5 separate regions of the Homo sapiens genome follow, and all the other regions are linked to region 2. The links are contacts of gene promoters, found by promoter capture Hi-C in blood cells and fetal thymus (Javierre and others, 2016). All regions are on one chromosome and are shown on one strand. Each heading gives the region's core, a stretch centred on a gene start or on the middle of the fragment in contact. The rest is flanking DNA. Distances are from core to core; before and after follow the strand shown.

Region 1 (2,700 bases), core at 161-2,660, 560 kb before region 2:
TGGTGAAACCCTGTCTCTACTAAAAATACAAAATTAGCCAGGCACGGTGGCACATGCTTGTAATCCCAGCTACTTGGGAGGCTGAGGCAGGAGAATTGCTTGAACCCGGCAGGTGGAGGTTTCAGTGAGCCAAGATTACACCATTGCGCTCCAACCTGGGTAACAAGAGCAAAAAACTCCATCTAAAAAAAAAAAAGACCAATAACTAATATTACTCCCTGAATAACAAGTAAATTTTAAAAATTTCTACCAGTAAAAGCTAAGAAAAATCTACCAGCAACATTCACCGTGACCCTAAAGTAGGATGCTTCTATTCTACCAGAGTATCGCTTCTGTATTCCCTCCAGCTCCTCACTTCCTCCTATTACCAAGAAAGGAGTAACTCTTATAACTGAGGTAGAATATACAGTGTTCTTTTCCTGTTTCCAAGTGGCAAGTACATTTGGGTCATGGTCCAGTCTACCTACTAAAAACAAATGTGGTGGTCTGCCCCATCCAATCACCAACACTTGAAGGGATGGGGCAACAATTCAAAAGTTAGGAGGAAACATTACTGCTCTACACCAAGGTCTAGGCTAGGGGAGAAGGACAATATCAGGAAACCAACCACACCTGCACACTAGTAGAAATTTATCAAAAACAAAGCTGTTATTTTTATCTCCATCTATGTGACCCCCACTTTTACTACTCAACTGGAACTCATGGAGAAATTAAGGGGGATAAGCAAGTCTATCACAAGATTATACAAAACTGGGTATCATCTTTACATGTTTGCAATTTATTTATCTACCAAAGCACTAGGTGATAGTATGAAATTGCATCTGTTTCCCTACCTGCTGTTTATCTTGTAATGCATTTTGAGCTGTGTCCAAATGATTCTGAAGATCAGCTCTTTGAGCAGTTTTTGCTGCTTCTGCTGATAGTAATAGTTCGGTTTTGGCTTTAATCTGTAACAGCATTTACAAATTATTTAATTTATATTTAGTTCTTGATTTCCTCTTGCTTGAACGCACACTCCTTTTGTGACTAAACAAACTATTTAAAAATTAAGTCCTTGGCAAAAACATATGGATTTATATATTGAAAAATATGTATGTGAAAATCGCCAAAATAGGAATGATAGGGGAGAAGACTCCTAATAATGCTGGATAAATAATAAAAAGATATCCTCATGTGATTCCAAAACACTTTAGTATTCCTTTGCTAAGAAAGAAAAGGTACACTTTTTTTCCAAAAAAGGCCACTGTATTTTCAGAAGTGAGTATCTGAAAGTCTACCACTATTATGATAAAGTAAATAACCATGCCCCAAAAAATGATTACTCCGAAGATAATCAAGAATTACAGAATTCAATGACTCAAAACAGCCAGACAACTGGCACTTTGTAAAATTCAGTATTCCCTGATAACTTCTCACTTAAAGGGTTTTATTTTTGAAGCTCACAGTCAAAATATTAAATATTAAAAATTCAAGGCTGCCAATAAAATCAAACAAGCAAAAAGATCTATCTTGTTATCAAAAGTAACACCTTTAAGTGTTGGAATACCTTTAGTACAACTCACCTCGAATACGAAAAGCAAAAAATAGGCCAAGTGCGGTGGCTCACACCTGTAATCCCAGCACTTTGGGAGGCCAAGGCAGGCAGATCACAAGGTCAAGCGATCGAGACTATCCTGGCCAATGTGGTGAAACCCCATCTCTACTAAAAATACAAAAATTAGCTGGGCATGGTGGCATGCACCTGTAGTCACAGCTACTCAGGAGGCTGAGGCAGAAGAATCACTTGAACCTGGGAGGTGGAGGCTGCAGTGAGCTGAGATCGCGCCACTGCACTCCAGCCTGGCGACAGAGCAAGACTCTGTCTCAGAAAAAAAGAAAGAAAGAAAGAAAAGCAAAAAAGAAAATATATATGTAAAAACATGTATTTAAAATTAACATATTTTGAGAAAACAGTAAAAATGGGGGGTGCATTCTTTTAGCTGGTTGAAGAGAGGATCAATGAACATAAGAAATCTAAGATTTACATTGTATGGATAATTACAAGCTGAAGGAAAAATTCAAATAATTTTTTCTCAATATCAAAATACTTAATTTTCACAGAAATAATAGTTACATCAAGGTATATACATTTACATTGATTTAAAGGTGAAAACTAAAGAAATCTTCCCTTTAAACAACACATAGTAAATCTATACTGATGAATATATAGCATAGACTACAAATATATTTTTGCAGAAGTCAGCTTTATTTACATACGGCATTTCATCTATCTGAGGAACCAAAAACTCATGAAATATTTTAACATATGATAATCACTCATGATCTTTTTTATACAGCATGCTTCAACTAATGTAATATATGTATATTCCAAAATCATGTAGCATATAAAGAAAGTTTGGGGGAAATTAAGTAATTGCTCCACTAGTTTGCCTTATTTTAGAAAGGCTTCTGATGGGGGGCGGGGGGGGAAATGTGGCTATTCATATAGCCAGCCCCTCTGTTTGCCCTTTTTATAGGCAATGACTAAGTACCAATTACTACAAGGCTACAATTGTTGCAACTTTTGCATTAAAGCCCTTAAAACAGTAAAAGCAGTGAAGTGCCCTCATACATGTGCATAATAATGTACCTTGATGCTGTCCTGATCATGCACACAAGGAAGTACCGTGGAAGTAGAGATCAAAAGGTGTATTATGGAAC
Region 2 (2,713 bases), core at 42-2,541:
CCTCCCACTTTGGGCTCTGCAGAAATCCCAGTTCCCTTTGCCTTGAAAGCTCTTGGTCAATTTAGCTCCTCCTCCTTCAGCCCTCAGCTCCTGCCTTGCTGCCCCAATAATCTTTTTCTGACTGCAGATCTGGTCAAATCTTTGTCTGAAACCTTAGAGCCCATTACATTTGTAGTTTTACGTGTACACGTGTGATCATTTAATATTTGACGGTGTGCTCTCAGGTGCCTACGCTCCTGGAGAGGCAGGGGCTGACTGGTTTTGTTAGATGCCAGTGCCTGACACACAATAGGCCCTCAAGGGGTGAAAAACCAACCAACCAAGTCAGGACCCAAGCAACCTGGGCCTCTGTGGAAGGGCAGAATGGCCTGAGTTTGGGTTTCTCGAGCTACCTTAAGATCAGGCCTCCTGGCTCCTATCTTAGCCCTTCTAACACTCTGAAGTGTAGAGGTTGTTTGTTCCAAGTCCCCAAGGTACTGTAAGCTCCCAGATAGCAGAAATCCCATTATATTTTAGTGCTGTGGCCCCAGCATCCAGCTGCGCTGTTACTTAGCATGAGATCCACATGAAAACCATTTCGCAACTATTAGCCATTGCCAGTATTAATACTTTCCGGAAGGTGGCACAAAGTGGGGGATGTTATAGACAGCTTCAAAGAAACGTTTAAGCTAGAGTTGACTCTTTAAATAATACAAGCCATCCCCAACCAAAGATTAAAAATTTAAATACAAAAAAAAAAAAAGGAAATTTGCCTACCCCCCATTTGTGAAAACAAAGAAAAAAAAAACAGTTAACGTCTTAACTTTTCTAGGCCTTCACTCTCGCCTCTCCCCGCGCTACAAGGGCGAATTCTGGACGTATCTACACAGTCACCGCGGAGTCTGCAATCGCCGCGACGTCCCCTGGCATTTCTTGGCCAGGCTGCAACTTTGGTGACGGTGTATGTAGTTACATCCCCTGTAGTGCAGCTGGTATTTAGGGTCCTCATTGGCAAAGTTGAGGGTATAAGCAGGGAGGGAGGGGACCTTGGCTTCTTTCCATTCACTGGCATGTTTTCGGGGCACGGTCATCCCACGCTGGGCTCCAGCGCCAGTCCCAAGGCCTCGCCGAACTCCAGCCCGGGAGTGCGCGCGGCCCCGCCCACCGGGCGGCCGAGGTCCCGCCCCTACCTCCCCCGCCACACCTACCCACCCACCCCATTGCAATGGTCTCTGCACGCAGGCGCAGTGGCGCGCGGGGGAGGCGGGGCGCATGTGGGCTTCATTTAAACAGAGCAGAGGGGGCGGCGCGCGGTCGCCGCGGTGCTGCTGCTCAGTGGGAGCGGGTCTTCGCAACTGTCTCCGCGTGGCGCGCGCCTCTAGCCGCCCTTCCCCTGGCGGCTACGGCCGGAGGGAGCGGAGGCGAGCGGGAGTCGGGCTCCATGGAGAGCGGCGGACAACTGGGCAGAGGCGGAGCTTTCATCTCGGCACCCTGGTTCCAGTGACCCGCGCTAGCGTCCCGTCCCGCCCGCGTCGGAGCGGCCGCCGGCCCCGGGACTGACCGGCCTCGCCGCACCTCCCGCACCGACTAGCGCTCCCGGGCGCTCCTGCGCCCGACTCGCCCTCGCCCCCACTCCCCGGCGGGGTGGCGGCGGCCGGGCCCCCACGGCGGCGGCCGGAGCAGCAGCAGCAGCAGCAGGAGCCCGCCTCTATGATGAAGTTCAAGCCCAACCAGACGCGGACCTACGACCGCGAGGGCTTCAAGAAGCGGGCGGCGTGCCTGTGCTTCCGGAGCGAGCAGGAGGACGAGGTAGGGCGCCCGGCGCCGCACGCTGCCCTCCGGGGCGCCGGGGTCTAGGGCCCGGGTGCTTCCCCTCGCTCCCCGCCCCTGCGCAGGCTGCGGGGCTGGGAGGGATTAGCCCCCTTCCTCCCTCCCTCCTTTCCTCCCTCACTCCTTTCCTCCCTCACTTCTTCCTTCCTTTCTCTGGGCTGATAGATGAGACAAAGGGGGCTCGCCCAGCCCCAGTTTCTCCATCTGGGCACTCGAGAAGGCGCCTGGTCCCCGGGAAGGTCCCGGGCCGCGTAAGTCTCGCCTAGCGGGAGTCACCATCTTAACGTGCGAATTGAGTTGAAAGCCGGATAAACCTCGAGTGCTCAGCGAGAGGAGGGTGGAAATGGCGTGAGTGTTGCAGCAGAGCCCTTGTGCCTCTTTTACATATTTTCCTTCCATGTTACAGCCGTTTGCGGTCTCGGATTCGATCTAAGCATGTTTGTGGAGTAACAGACAGTCCTCGTGCTTGGAATTGAGTCTAGTCTTGGCAATTCTTGTGGGTCCATGAACCCGCAAGCTGTTGGCATAATTATGCCTCATTTTTAAAACGGCCTTCCCTTCTTAAAGTTTTCTGACTGCAGAAAAATGGTTAGTGAAAAATGTGGAATAATGCCAAAAGGGAGACGATGGACTAGAGATGGGCAAAGCTGCCATTTTCAGACAGTAATCTCCAGCTCTCAGCTTATGTATAAAGGGTTCTTTGCTGTCTGGCTTGACATCTGGAAAGGAGTAGCCTTTCTCGTTCTCAGAGCAGTCGTTCTTGGATAATTTACCCATCTGCATTGGGCTGAGAATGAGACCCTTGGGGTTTCCCTGGAGAGCGATTTTTACTTAATTCAGTAGTATTTATTTAAAATGGCTAACTGTTGAAGTTTGCTTAGGGCAATAGTAGCCTTTTGGTATT
Region 3 (2,700 bases), core at 125-2,624, 580 kb before region 2:
ATTCCAATCAACAGAAAAAGAGGGAATCCTTCCTAACTAATTTTATGAGGCCAACATCATCCTGATACCAAAGCCCAGAAGAGACACAACTAAAAAAGAGAATTTGAGGTCAATATCCCTGATGAACATCGATGCGAAAATCCTCAAATAAAATACTGGCAAACCGAATCCAGCAGCACATCAAAAAGCTTATCCACCACAATCAAGTTAGCTTCATCCCTGGGATGCAATGCTGGTTCAACATATGCAAATCAATAAATGTAATCCGTCACATAAACAGAACCAACGACAAAAACCACATGGTATCTCAATAGATGCAGAAAAGGCCCTCGACAAAATTCAACAGCCTTCATGCTAAAAACTCTCAACAAACTAGATATTGAGGGAACGTATCTCAAAATAACAAGAACTACTTATAGTAAACCCACAGCCAATATCATACTGAATGGGCAAAAACTGGAAGCATTCCCTTTAAAAACCGGCACAAGACAAGGATGCCCTCTCTCACCACTCCTATTCAACATAGTGTTGGAAGTTCTGGCCAGGGCAATCAGGCAAGAGAAAGAAATAAAGGGTATTCAATTAGGAAAACAGGAAGTCAAATTGTCCCTGTTTGCAGATGACATGATTGTATATTTAGAAAACCCCATTGTCTCAGTCCAAAATCTCCTTAAGCTGATAAGCAACTTCAGCAAAGTCTCAGGATACAAAATCAATGTGCAAAAATCACAAGCATTCCTATACACTATTAACAGACAAACTGAGAGCCAAATCATGAGTGAACTCCCATTCACAATTGCTACAAAGAGAATAAAATACCTAGGAATCCAACTTACAAGGGATGTGAAGGACATCTTCAAGGACAGCTACAAACTACTGCTCAATGAAATAGAAGAGGACACAAACAAATGGAAGAATATTCCATGCTCATGGATAGGAAAAATCAATATCATGAAAATGACCTTACTGCCCAAAGTAATTTATAGATTCAATGCCATCACCATCAAGCTACCAATGACTTTCTTCATAGAATCGGAAAAAACTACTTTAAAGTTCATATGGAACCAAAAAAGAGCCTGCATTGCAAGGACTTCATGACTAAAACACCAAAAGCAATGACAACAAAAGACAAAATAGACAAATGGGATCTAATTAAACTAAAGAGCTTCCGCACGGCAAAAGAAACTACCATCAGAGCGAACAGGCAACCTACAGAATGGGAGAAAATTTTTGCAATCTCCCCATGTGACAAAAGGCTAATATCCAGAATCTACAAAGAACTCAAACAAATTTACAAGAAAAAAACAAACAACCCCATCAAAAAGTGGGCAAAGGATACGAACAGACACTTCTCAAAAGAAGACATCTATGCAGCCAACAGACACAGGAAAAAATGCTCATCATCACTGGCCATCAGAGAAATGCAAATCAAAACCACTATGAGATACCATCTCACGCCAGTTAGAATGGCAATCATTAAAAAGTCAGGAAACAGCAGATGCTGGAGAGGATGTGGAGAAACAGGAACACTTTTACACTGTTGGTGGGAGTGTAAATTAGTTCAACCATTGTGGAAGACAGTGTGGCGATTCCTCAAGGATCTAGAACTAGAAATACCATTTGACCCAGCAATCCCATTACTGGGTAAATATCCAAAGGATTATAAATCGTGCTACTATAAAGACACATGCACACGTATGTTTATTGCAGCACTATTCACAATAGCAAAGACTTGGAACCAACCCAAATGTCCATCGATGATAGACTGGATAAAAAAAAATATGGCACATATACACCATGGAATACTATGCAGCCTTAAAAAAGGATGAGTTCATGTCCTTTTCAGGGACATGGATGAAGCTGGAAACCATCATTCTCAGCAAACTATAACAAGGACAGAAAACCACACACCGCATGTTCCCACTCATAGGTGGAAAGTGAACAATGAGATCACTTGGACACAGGGCAGAGAACATCACACACCAGGGCCTGTCGGGGGGTGGGGGGCTGGGGGAGGGATATCATTAGAAGAAATACCTAATGTAAATGATGAGTTGATGGGTGCAGCAAACCAACATGGCACATGTATACCTATGTATCAAACCTGCATGTTGTGTACATGTAAACTAGAACTTAAATAAAAGAAAAAAAAAAGCTGCTACTTCCCCCAATAAATGGCATTACCAACTACCCACATGCACAAACCCAAGTTATCCTTGATCCTCTTCCTATTACCTCTCACTTTTGAATCTATCAGAAAGTCCTGATGATGCAACTTCCAAAATATATTCACAAATCATTATAATCATTCACAAAATCCTTTATTTTCCCTTTAGTCAAACCCCACCATTCTCTGTTCTAAATTCTCCAATAGAGTCCAATTGCCCTTAGAATAAAATATACCATTCTGTTATCTCATAATCTAATTTGCATATAAATGATCTGGCCCCTGTCTAATTATCTGAGCTCATCTCATGTTACCTTCTCCCTCAGAACCAAATTTAACCATATTGGTCATCTGTTTTTAGAAAATACCAACATCAACTCAAATCTCTTCAGCAAAGCTTCTTTGATCACCCAACCTTCAGTAGAATTATGTCCCATCACTATCTTTCATACCTCTCTGTTTAGTTTCTCTACGCACTAAAGTATAAGCTCCACAAGAACAGGTCCCATGTCTGTTTTATTCGCAGCTGTGTC
Region 4 (2,700 bases), core at 121-2,620, 540 kb before region 2:
ACACCAAAGTATAATACAGTTGTCATGAAGAAAAGTACTCATGTGATTGAGTTATACTGAACTAGCCACACTTTTTTTTTTATGAAACACCACTTTTACTAGAAAGACCGACAGACTATTAATATTCGGACTTGAGTAGGAAGGGAATCTGTCACTTTAAAGAATAGAATTGATAGTATTTGTTGCCAGTGATAAAACTCAAGCTTTCAAATACAGCTTAGAATTTTGGAAAACATGTATCCACCACCATGAGCTTGACAGCTTCCTCATATTTAAAGCCTAATCTGAGATTGATGGTGATATTGACAAATGTGACTGTTTTTATATTGTACAATAAAATGTATCAAAATTTGGAAGATCTGAGTAACTCAGTGAACCAATATTTTCCACATGACTAATGCATGATCTTATAAAATCACGCACAGGAAAAGATCCACTCAAAAGGCAAGATAGATCAAATTTTAATGTTACAGTGTACAAAAAGTCCACTGACTCGGTTTCAGATTCCACATTGTCACTAACTTTTAAGACACTATTATCAAATTTGAGCACAGTATCAAATAAAGAAAGCCACAATTATCTGAAAAAGTATTAAAATATTCCTTCCTTTTCCAACTACATATCTGTATGAGACTAAATTTTCTTCATATACTTCAACCATATACTACAATAGATTTAATGTAAAGGCAGATATGAGAATCTACCTGTCCTATATTAAGCTAGACATTAAAGAGGTTTCCAAAAATGTGAAACATCACAACTATTCTTGCTGAATTCTTTTGTTTTAGAAAATGGTCATTTTTCATAAGAAATGCTATTTATGTTAATATTTAATGAGTTAATGTTTTTTAAATAAATTAATATTTTTAAATTACTTTTAAATTTCGATATGACAAGTGTCCATAGATATAACCTCACCCAAAAATGGCTCTTTGGAGTCCTTAATCATTTTGAGAATGTAAAAAGAAGTGCTTGCCAAGGGCAGCAAATTACCCTGAAACTTCATGGCAGCAAATTACCCTGAAACTTCATGGCAGCAGCCTAAAACAATATCTATTATATCATATAGTTTTTGAGGGTCAGGAATCTAGAAGTGGCTTAACTGGGTGATTTCACCTCAGGGTCTCTCATGAGGTTATAGTAAGCTGCTGGCCAGAGCTACAGTTTCTGAAAACTTGACTAGGATTGGAGCATCTACTTTCAAGCTCATACACATGGCTGTTGGCAGGAGGTTTAATATTTATAGCTAATTATATTTCTCTTTATTCCCTTATGCCCTATTTTTTTCTTTCTTGACTTTTTCCTTATTATATTTCACGAAAATGTTAAGTTATTACAACTTAACCAACACATTCACATCTCTGAATAAAAGGGTTTCATAACTCTCTACTGCCCCACCACCAAAAAAGTAAAGACAAAGGGAAAAAGTATTAATATTAGTACCTCCCCTAACCCCAAACAAAATACTATATGTTGCTCTTTATTTTTTGAGATGGAATCTCACTCTGTGGCCCAGGCTGGAGTGCAGTGGCATGATCTCGGCTCACTGCAATTTCTGCCTCCCATGTTCAAGTGATTCTCCTGCCTCAGCCTCCTAAGTAGCTGGGATTACAGGCATGTGCCACCACACCCAGCTAATTTTTGTATTTTTAATAGAATGGGATTTCACCATGTTGGCCAGGCTGGTCTCAAACTCCTGACCTCAGGTGATTTGCCCGCCTTGGCCTCCCAAAGTGCTGGGATTACAGGCGTGAGCCACCGCACCTGGCCAATGTTGCTCATTTATAAAGAAACAATACAGAAAATACTAACATTTAAAAATACAAAACAAAGTTGAAGGCTTATCTTCCTGATTTTAAAACTTATTACAAAGCTACAGTAATCAAAACAGTGTGGTACTAGCATAAAGATGGACATAGAGTCCAATGGAATAGAATAGAGAGCCAGAAATAAACCTTTGCATATATTGTTGCTATGGTCTGAATGTCTGTGTCCCCCCAAAATTCATATACTGAAACTCTAACCCTCAAGGAGATGGTATTAGGAGATGGGGCATTTCAGAGGTAATTAGGTCCTCAGGGTTGAGTTCTCATGAATGGAATTACAAAAGAGGCCCCAGTGAGGTCTCTTGTTCTTTTCACCATGTGGGACACAGTGAGAAGGCACCATCTATGAACCAGAAAGCAATGTTTCACCAGACACCAAATCTGCTAGTGCCTTGATTTTGAACTTCTCAGCCTCCAAAATAGTAAAAAATAAATTTCTATTGTTTATAAGCTACCCAGTTTATAGTATCTTATTATAGGAGCCCAAACAGACTAAGACAATGGTCAAATAATTTCTGACAAGGGTGCCAAGATTATTCAACGGGGAAAGGACAGTCTTTTCTACAAATGTTGCTGGGAAAAATGGATATCCATGTATAAAAGAATAAAATTAGACCCTTACCTTATACTATATACAAAATTAAATCAAAATGGATCAAAAACCTAAACATAAGACCTAAAAATTAGAAAACTCTTATAAGAAAACAAAAGAAAAGCTTCATGACACTAGGTTTAGCAATGATTTTTTGGATATGACACCAAATAGACCTTAACAAAAATGAAAGTAGATAAATTAGACTACATCAAAATTTAACATTCCTACAGAATGGGATAAAATATTTGCAAATCACATATCTGATAAGGGGTTAATATC
Region 5 (2,700 bases), core at 71-2,570, 600 kb before region 2:
ACCGTGGCTCCCAGGAAGAAAAAATAGCAAAAAACAATGGCACATTGGGCCTTCCAAAAAGTATCTTTGGGGAGGGGAGGGAGAAAAATAAATAAATAAATAAATAAATAATGTTTTAAGTATCTTTAAATGGTCATCTGGGTATTAAATGCAGACACACAATGAAATAAGGGGTTAATTACATATTTTTTATATTTGTTTTTAGTTTTGTTAATTCTCTACAATATTAAATGGAATGTCTAAGGCAAAATGGCATTAATAATTTCTCTTGAGATCAGGAATTTAATTACTATTCGAAATTGAACAACATTAAAACACCACTGTCTATATCCAAGTGCAAAGTCCTAATATTCTGTAAATAAATTAATGCAAAATGGTTAATACAGTGTTCTCTCTTTTGTTAGACAAAACAATTTATAGTCACAGAATACAACTAGTTTAGAAAGAAATGTTTTTAATATAATATTTAAACATATTAAAAAAAAGCAACAATTCAATAAGGATCCTTCCATTGTTCTTTATACAGATTTAAATGCTGTCACGTACTTTATCAGTTACATTTATAATTAATAACCTTCCAATCACTGAGTTTAGAAATTGCAGTATTTACTGAGCTAACCTTTCTCACAAAGTAAGGCACAACTACATGATCACAAGTAGTAAACACAATACAAATAATGAACCCAAAAACTAAATGAGAAAATGTTCATGCATAAGTATCTACAGAACTTATGAATATATGATCCAGTTCAAGGAATTACAGAATGTCATATACACAACTGCATTGTGTTACAATAAATTTATTACTTCTACACAGAAAGAACTTAGTGACTTCTAATTCTATTTTATACAATTTTACATAAATTTAGTAAGTTTATGCACAATATTCACATCTGCAACAATAACAAATTGATCATTAAAATTCAGGCTAAGGGCAATTAAGACACAATAATGTGTGGCACGTTATAATTACAGAATACCATTCATCAAGCTCATGTCTAGGAATACTATAATGGTGGCACATTTAAATCTTATGGATCAAATCATCCATGGTTTTATAGCCAAAGTGCATTTTTTTAAAAAAACTCCTATAGTCAAACAGGTCATGAATATCAAAATATATGATCATAATTTGCTCTCTACTTAAAAGCTAAACATTTTTATGCAAATGTAAGGTTAAAAAAAAGTGGCTTTAAAGTTCTCAAAACTATATAAAATAATCATAAAGACTTTTTTAAGAGAGATGGGAAAATAACAAATTTGGCAGTTACTATTTAACATTACTGTCAGGAAACTATTAAAGTAGATAATTCCACATTAAGAGGTAGTTGAACAAAATGTTATTTATACACTGCATTGAGGTTTTTGTGTTTGTTTCCCTCATTTTTTCTTCAAAGGAACAAATCCTATACCAGCAGCTTTGTCTTCTTTCTATTAAAAAAAAGTCTGTAGGTATAGTTTATTGTACACTAACCCAGCAAGACTTAATTTTAACTCACATTCTGTGCCGGGGTTTGGAATTTACTAACATTATGTCAATGTGCTTTTCATTAAAGCCAAGAGCTGTACATGCCAGCTTTAACTGACTGACAAAATAATAGTACCAGCAAACATGTAAAATGTACAGCCAATAAGGACTTCAAAGATGACTTTTTAATTAAAAGGAAAAAAATTTAAATTTTTATTTCGAAAACACATTAAATTGGGGAGAGTTAGTAGCAAAAAATGTTCGGTTTCATTTATATTATCAGTATAGTAGCCTATGGTAGGTAAATTACTCGGGACTTATGAAATGAAATTAGATAAAAATGAGAAAATCATTCAAACACCTATATATGGTTACTTGTTGTCTTAAAATTTTTTTGTGAGTATTTTGGGGGTAAAGGGGAGACAGACAGAAGGCCTGGAGTGGTGTTCAATTAGGAGACAAAGTAAACAAATATTCAAACCCAGATTTCTCATGGAATTTATTATCTCAAAAAAAAAAAAAAAACAGTGGTGCTGTGAATATCTGTGTTTTTCCAGCACACTTATTAAGTTATTTATATGTAAAAGGATAGAATTAAAACTATTTGGAAGGATTTATAAGTATATAAAAATGCATAAATAGTTCAGTTTATATTATCCAACTATTATTTTTAATAAAGAGCCACTGTATTTCTTCATTATATATGTTCAAGGATATATGTTTATCCAAGTCCAGGGACTTAATCAATGTTCTTAATAGCTAATGACAACAGGGTTTACTTAAATTTTTTTTTAAATAATTAAACAAATATGTAGTGATCTCTTTAGTTTACATACACTGTAGGTATAGCATGAATATAATTTCATTTCAGAATATTTGAAAGCAAATGTATATTAAGAACTATTATAAATGAAATATTAACTACTGTTATAAAATGATTGCACTGAATGAATGTATAACTACACTTCTTCTCTAGAAAGATTAATAAACCAATATTAATAACTTCTCTCTTGAGATGTTTTACAATTTTCCAAATTAATAAGACTATGCTAAATTAAAGTTCGATTCCATTGTTCAGCATACAAATAAGCTAATTTCTTAATTATCCTTAAGATGCTTAGCCATGCTGTTTCAGTTTTTATTGTAACTGGGATTCCTAAATACATTTGTTTTTGGTGATACTCTATTTCTAGGTGTTAGTTACTTAAAGGGAATTTCACAACATTATTTTT

What was found. Contacts are between HindIII fragments. The CHiCAGO score rates a contact against its expected background, and 5 or more counts as called.
Region 1: a contact is called between a fragment that was not itself captured here and the fragment with the promoter of NUDT4 in region 2, in 1 of 17 cell types (naive CD4 T cells). The highest score is 7.2, in naive CD4 T cells.
Region 3: a fragment that was not itself captured here is called in contact with the fragment with the promoter of NUDT4 in region 2 in 3 of 17 cell types (naive CD4 T cells, total CD4 T cells and naive CD8 T cells); the score reaches 6.0 in naive CD4 T cells.
Region 4: a contact is called between a fragment that was not itself captured here and the fragment with the promoter of NUDT4 in region 2, in 3 of 17 cell types (naive CD4 T cells, erythroblasts and monocytes). The highest score is 5.8, in naive CD4 T cells.
Region 5: a fragment that was not itself captured here is called in contact with the fragment with the promoter of NUDT4 in region 2 in 3 of 17 cell types (naive CD4 T cells, monocytes and megakaryocytes); the score reaches 11.0 in naive CD4 T cells.

The regions. Positions count from the first base shown.
Region 1 is chr12:92,812,147-92,814,846 of GRCh38, forward strand. It overlaps EEA1 (early endosome antigen 1), which reads right to left. Exons shown (of 29, transcript NM_003566.4): 16 at 834-947. Among named protein-coding and RNA genes, the nearest start is that of PLEKHG7, 110 kb to the left of the region's middle. The HindIII fragment of the contact is 6,905 bases long and covers 1-2,700 here.
Region 2 is chr12:93,376,634-93,379,346 of GRCh38, forward strand. NUDT4 (nudix hydrolase 4) reads left to right here and starts at 1,292. Exons shown (of 5, transcript NM_019094.6): 1 at 1,292-1,788. The coding sequence starts at 1,690. LOC643339 (a long non-coding RNA gene) reads right to left here and starts at 1,103. Exons shown (of 5, transcript NR_040096.1): 1 at 804-1,103. RefSeq lists an enhancer at 888-1,827 and silencers at 1,064-1,403, 1,624-1,923. The HindIII fragment of the contact is 6,665 bases long and covers 1-2,713 here.
Region 3 is chr12:92,792,736-92,795,435 of GRCh38, forward strand. All of the region lies in intron 21 of EEA1 (early endosome antigen 1), which reads right to left. Among named protein-coding and RNA genes, the nearest start is that of PLEKHG7, 91 kb to the left of the region's middle. The HindIII fragment of the contact is 2,376 bases long and covers 187-2,562 here.
Region 4 is chr12:92,838,842-92,841,541 of GRCh38, forward strand. All of the region lies in intron 10 of EEA1 (early endosome antigen 1), which reads right to left. Among named protein-coding and RNA genes, the nearest start is that of EEA1, 89 kb to the right of the region's middle. The HindIII fragment of the contact is 2,339 bases long and covers 202-2,540 here.
Region 5 is chr12:92,772,075-92,774,774 of GRCh38, forward strand. It overlaps PLEKHG7 (pleckstrin homology and RhoGEF domain containing G7), which reads left to right. Exons shown (of 17, transcript NM_001377329.1): 17 at 1-381. It overlaps EEA1 (early endosome antigen 1), which reads right to left. Exons shown (of 29, transcript NM_003566.4): 29 at 1-2,700. Among named protein-coding and RNA genes, the nearest start is that of PLEKHG7, 70 kb to the left of the region's middle. The HindIII fragment of the contact is 3,638 bases long and covers 1-2,700 here.